2 separate regions of the Homo sapiens genome follow, and region 1 is linked to region 2. Evidence: promoter capture Hi-C in 16 types of primary human blood cells and fetal thymus (Javierre and others, 2016). All regions are on one chromosome and are shown on one strand. Each heading gives the region's core, a stretch centred on a gene start or on the middle of the fragment in contact. The rest is flanking DNA. Distances are from core to core; before and after follow the strand shown. Region 1 overlaps MAPRE3 (microtubule associated protein RP/EB family member 3). Region 2 holds the start of DPYSL5 (dihydropyrimidinase like 5).

Region 1 (2,743 bases), core at 205-2,704, 130 kb after region 2:
AACGAATGGCTTTCCTTAGTGCTTGTTGGTGTTTTCTAAGCTTTTCTGCATTAAGCAACTATAACTTAATTATGACATTTTAAAACCAGTGACTTCTAGATTCCATGTAGTAGAGCAATCTTTAGAGTCTTCTTTGCCTCTTCCTTTTACTGTTTACATGTATCGGAAGGTTTTAGTAAAACCTTGTATACCACAGGGCTCTGTTTTGGGTGGCCTTCTTTTCCCAGGTGTCTTTTCAGATTCTCTGTATTCCCAGTTCTCCAGTGTTCCAGGGGCCTTTTTTGAGGGTTTTGCTCATTTTTTGGTGTGGATGTGCACCTGTCTGAATTGTCTGTTTCAAAAGACTCTGCCCAGGCCCACTACAGTTGCCTTCCTCCCTTTGCCCTTTGTCACCTTCCGTTCAGCCATGAGCTCAGAGGCCCTTTTTCCTTCCAGGGATAGAGAGGGTTGGGTGCCCACCTGTGGCCACCCGATGGGCAGAGCCCTATGTAGACATAGGCTAGGCCACTCCCCCTGTGCCACACCAGGTCCATGGAGCTGCTGACTGTGTTGGTAGGGCCTGGCCGGGCAGCTGTCCTCTGGCCTCATCTTTCCCATCCACACACACACACTGTACATTGCCTAGATGGCCCAGTCCAGTGGACTGATACCTGCCTTCAACCAGTGGTGGAGTCTGCCCAGCTCTGAGCACTGAGAAAGGGGCACTTTGGCCTCCTCCTGAGGATCCGGGACTTCGAGTTGAAGAACATATGGCCTGTCACATAGCTCGAACTGTGCTGTGATAAATGTTTGCTAAGCAGGATCTGCCTCTTCCTCCAAATGGTCTGGCTACCCAAATACTTGTCCTAGATGGGGTGGAGGCCTTCCCTGCTGCTGGAATTATTAGTGAGCAAGTCTTTGGGTATGGCTGGCTGGAGAGACTCCACCACTCGGAGAGAGTGATTGTGGGAGAAACAGTCATCTTATCTTGAGGGCATTGTGGTCCTGGTCACCTTGTAATTTATATGGTGTTCTCTGACTGGTAAGAAATGAAATCTTAACTGCTTCTGAGTCAGCAAGATCATAGTTGGGTCTAAGGTGTGTGTTGCCATGTGAAAGGGGCAGGTCTTAGACCACTAGATGAAATTAGATACCTTTCCCATGTGAGGAGTGTTTCACGCAGGCTTATCTCCAGTGGCATAATGTGTGCTGTGTAGCCAGGCCTTTCCGCAGCACCAGACTCTTGGCAGCCAGCCACCCTCCACCCCCACCCGCTTCCCTGAAGGTTATTGACACTTACCTGGGACTCTGATTTGGTCCTTGATTTGTTCTGATTTTAGATGCTTAGAGCTCATAGCTGAAAGCTCTCAGTTTAGGCATCCTATTAACACTCTTAAGTGACAGGATCACTGCTAAGTACAGAGATGTGTTATGCTGGCCCCAAAATAGCAAGGTACAGTGTCTTGAGACAACTTGATAAGACTTCTATTACCCCAAAAGTATAGTTCCCAGGTTTACAGATTATTCATATAAATTTGCATATCATCTTCACAAGACATGTAAGCATGCTCTCAGCACGTATTCTTCATCAAGCCCTTTCTCTGTTTTGTATTGTTAGTCACTATGGGATATAAAGGAAATGAGACTCAACCCTTGTCCATGAGGAGGCTGTAATGTGTGTGGAAGACAAGATGGATATATGGAATGATTAGTGCATATGACAATATTGCATGTCAGAAACACATCTTTGGTGCCTTATTCTATAAGACACAGTGTCAGCCCTTAAGGAATTCAGCTAATATTCTGGCAAAAGAGTTGGACACAAAACTGTATGTCACTGTAACATGAGGGGATGGAACCTTATCAGCTATGGGAAAGGGTGCTTTGGTAAGCCAGAAGGAAGAGTCACCCTGAGCCTGTGAGAACCAGAAAGACTTCAGAGATGAAGACACACTGGAGCTGGGTGTGCAGGTTGATGTGGAGACTCATCAGAGGACAGCTGAGGAAGAGAGGCAAAAGAAATGAAAAGAACAGTGCATTGGGTGTCACTGGTACTACAGAGTCTAAATTCCAAAAGGATGCTGAGAGGAAAATAATCATTGTGAACTGGAGTAATCAGAAAAGACTTCAGTCTAGGTGCAATGGCTCACGCCTGTCATACCAACACTTTGGGAGGCCAAGGGGGGAGGATCACTTGAGGCCAGGAGTTCAAGACCAGCCTCAGCAACATAGCGAGACCCCATCTACAAAAATTGTTTTTAAATTAGCCGGGCATGGTGGCATATACCTATAGTCCCAGCTACTAGGGAAGCCAAGGCAGGAGGATGGCTTGAGCCCAGGAGTTTGAGGCTGCAGTGAACTATGATCATGCCATTGCACTCCAGCCTGGGTGGCAGAGTAAGGGCCAATCTCTATTAAAAAAAGACAAGACTTCACAAAGGAAGCAGAACCTGACCTTGTCTCAAGGATGAGCAGGCTGTGAGTTGACAGAACACCAGAGAGGGCTTTTCAGGAGGCAAGGTACAGCATCAGCAAAGGAATGGCCGTGGGAAGGGGTGTGGTGGGGTTTGTAGGCAGGGCAGCCTTACCAGACTGAGGATGTGTGCTGGTTTTGAGTTTGGAGAATATTGGTGACATTAACCAGAAATTAGGAAGTTTGAAGAGACAGTTTGGAAAGGAGTTGCTTTTTAGACACAGAGAGCTAAAAACAACGTGACTGTGGGTTGCAGGACATCCAAGTTGAGTGATCTCATAGAACCGGAAG
Region 2 (2,700 bases), core at 139-2,638:
GAGTTGGGAAGGGGAGAAGGAGTGCAGACTCAGGGGTGGGGTAATCCAGAAATGCATCCCTCAAAGGCCAGCCTGGCCTGGTCCAGGCCCTAAGCTCTCTGGGGAAGGACGGCAGGGAACCCCGCCTTGGCGGGCTCTGCGGGTCCTGCGCCCGGGTAGATTTTGCTGAGATGGGGAGAGGGGACCCCCTCCACGCCCCCGGAGTAGTGAACACCATTTTGTTTGAAAGTATCCTGCAAAGAGAACCACCTCACGAGGCCATGGCTGCCAGGGGACTCCTCTCCCCACCGGATCGCCGGGGAGCCCGGGGAGGGAGGGATTCTGCAGCTGCAGCTTGGAGGTCCTTGATGCTGCATTTTAACGCGCATCGCAACGCCTTTGGAGTGACATTAAGTGCAAAGAGGCAAATGACTAATCCAAACTATTATTACAACTGCAGAAAATAACACAGATCAATGGCAAAGGCTTGAACCGGGATTAGCTAGGGAGGTGGGACAAACCGGGGATGATCCTTCCTCTCCTTTTTTAGATTTGTTTATTTTGGTAAATTATGTATGTATTTAAACATGAAGAAACAGGTGAAGCGAATGTAAATTGGGTTATAAATAATTTCCAAAGGCTTCGCTGTCCCTTGACAGAAGCCAGAAATAAGACAGGCACTGGGCCTGAGCGCTCTGGACAGGGAAGCACCCGCGTGGCGCTGGGCAAAATCTTCTCAGTGGAGAGAACGCACTCCGGGTTCGAGACCTCCCCGGGTGCAGATGCGAACTGCGGTGGCCCCAAGTGGCCGTCCACTTTGTTCATGAGAACAGTTTTCCTATAACGCCCACCCGGCCCTTTGCATCCCGCAATCCCGCGGGCGTCGGAGCGGGTCTTGGCGCGAACCAGGCGGCCTCGGCGGGGTCCTGCGGCGGAGGGCAGCGCGGCCGCAGCCCGGGAGAGGCGGCCGCGGCATTGTTTCAGCCCCTGGGGTGGGATCCAGCTGGGGGAGGGGAGGCGGGGTGTCCTCCGGAACCGCCCCCGGCCCTCCCTGGGGACCCGTGCCTCAGCGCGTCCAGGCTTTGTGGTGTCCTGAGTCGCCATGGAAACCCGAGGGAACGCGGAGCCGGGTGCTAGGGGGGTCGGTGAGTTCTCCGGCCGCGCCCTCCGTCCGCTCTCGGACCCCGGCCCTGCAGCAGGGCCTGCCGGGAGTTGTAGTCCCCAGGCGGCGGCGGCGCGCGGCGCCAAGGATGCGGGACGCCGCCTGTCCCCGCCTCCCCTTAACCTGCTAGCTGAGGTGGGGAGCGGCGGGAGGAGCCGGCCGCGCGGTGATTGGCGGAGGCCGCTCCCAGCCCCCGACACGCGCCCCTCCCCCGCTCCCCACTCTGGACTCCCGCGCTGGGCGCGCTGAGGCGGCCCCCGAGCGAGCGCGCGTGCAGCCGCCGCCGCCCCGAGCACCCGCAGCTCCGGCGCCGCGGCGAGACGGAGACGGACCGAGCCACGGGCCCCCGCGGCCGCAGCATCTCGGAGGAGTGGGTGATGGCAGGGGGGTCGGTGGGCTTACCCCTCCCGGGCTAGGACATCCTCCTCTCCCCCTTCTGTTTCTGCGTGAGGCGCACAAAAGGGCGGGGAGCCGGGTGAGCCTGGGGCCCGGCCGCAGGGGACGCGGCGGGAGGTGTGGTTTGGGGTTGGGAGGTGGCCATCGGGGCTAAGCCGGGGCGCTCTTGGGGTCCTCTTTGTACGCCCGCGAAGCGCCGTGCCGGGCCTTGCTCATAGTAAGCGTTTAATGCGTGCTCGCGGGGTTGCAAAGCCCTGGGGTGAGGAGGCGGCTCGGCCGAGGGGTTTCGCGCCTAGCACGCAGTGGGCCGCTTTCCTAGCCGGGCGCGGTGCAGTGGACCGCTGGAGGGCTGGGCGGGGGCGCCTCTGGCCGGGGGCCAGTCCTGCCGGTCCCAGGATCTGCGCTGTCCCCGGTCCCACACACCACCCAGATACACACCCTCCGTCCTTCTCGCCTCCGAGCTGGGATCTGCCCAGCCTGGACCCGACCCGGCGGTCTGTTCCACCGCCCGGCTAACGGAGCGGACGCCTGCAGAGGACTCGCCCGCCGCCTCCGAGCCTCCCGCCTGAGCCACAAAGGCCTCCTGCGGCTGCCCAGCCCGGAGCGGGCGCCGAGCCGGGTCCCTCGGCTGGAGCCCAGCGCGGGAGCCCGCCTTGCAGCATCGATCTCAGCGGGCACCGACGTCGACGCCCCGGGCCTGGGGACGGGGCTGTAGTCTGAGCTGGAGAGAAGCCGGGAGAGGGCGAGGGGAGGCCTCGGTTGAGAAAAGATGGGGATGGGGAAGGCTGGGGAGCTGGGTTAGGACAGGTAGTGGGTCTCGGGGAGCAGGGAGTGGGAACTAGGGTTTGAGGAGGAAAGAGAAGGGGCGGGGGCGGGTCCGAAGAACGAGGGAAGGAGCTCGGTGCAGGTGGCGCCCGGCGAGGCTGGTTCTGCTGAAGAATGGGGAGGGGAGGAGGGATGCAGGCGGGTGGAGGCCGCCTGGGTTTGAGGAGGGAGGACGGGAGCGAGGAGAAGACCCGCGCTGTGCGGGGGAGGGGGGCCTCCTGGGAAGGGGAGCCTCCCGAGGAGGGAGGGGCAAGCAGCTGAGAGGCGGTCTCGGGCCCGAGGATCCTCAGCTCCAGGCGCGGGGCCCCGCGGCCCAGGTGGCCGGCTGGGCGTGGCCC

Evidence for each region. Contacts are between HindIII fragments. The CHiCAGO score rates a contact against its expected background, and 5 or more counts as called.
Region 1: a fragment that was not itself captured here is called in contact with the fragment with the promoter of DPYSL5 in region 2 in 1 of 17 cell types (megakaryocytes); the score reaches 6.6 in megakaryocytes.

The regions. Positions count from the first base shown.
Region 1 is chr2:26,977,195-26,979,937 of GRCh38, forward strand. All of the region lies in intron 1 of MAPRE3 (microtubule associated protein RP/EB family member 3), which reads left to right. Among named protein-coding and RNA genes, the nearest start is that of MAPRE3, 7.9 kb to the left of the region's middle. The HindIII fragment of the contact is 2,833 bases long and covers 39-2,743 here.
Region 2 is chr2:26,846,744-26,849,443 of GRCh38, forward strand. It overlaps DPYSL5 (dihydropyrimidinase like 5), which reads left to right and starts at 1,389. Exons shown (of 13, transcript NM_020134.4): 1 at 1,389-1,511. The HindIII fragment of the contact is 4,603 bases long and covers 1-2,700 here.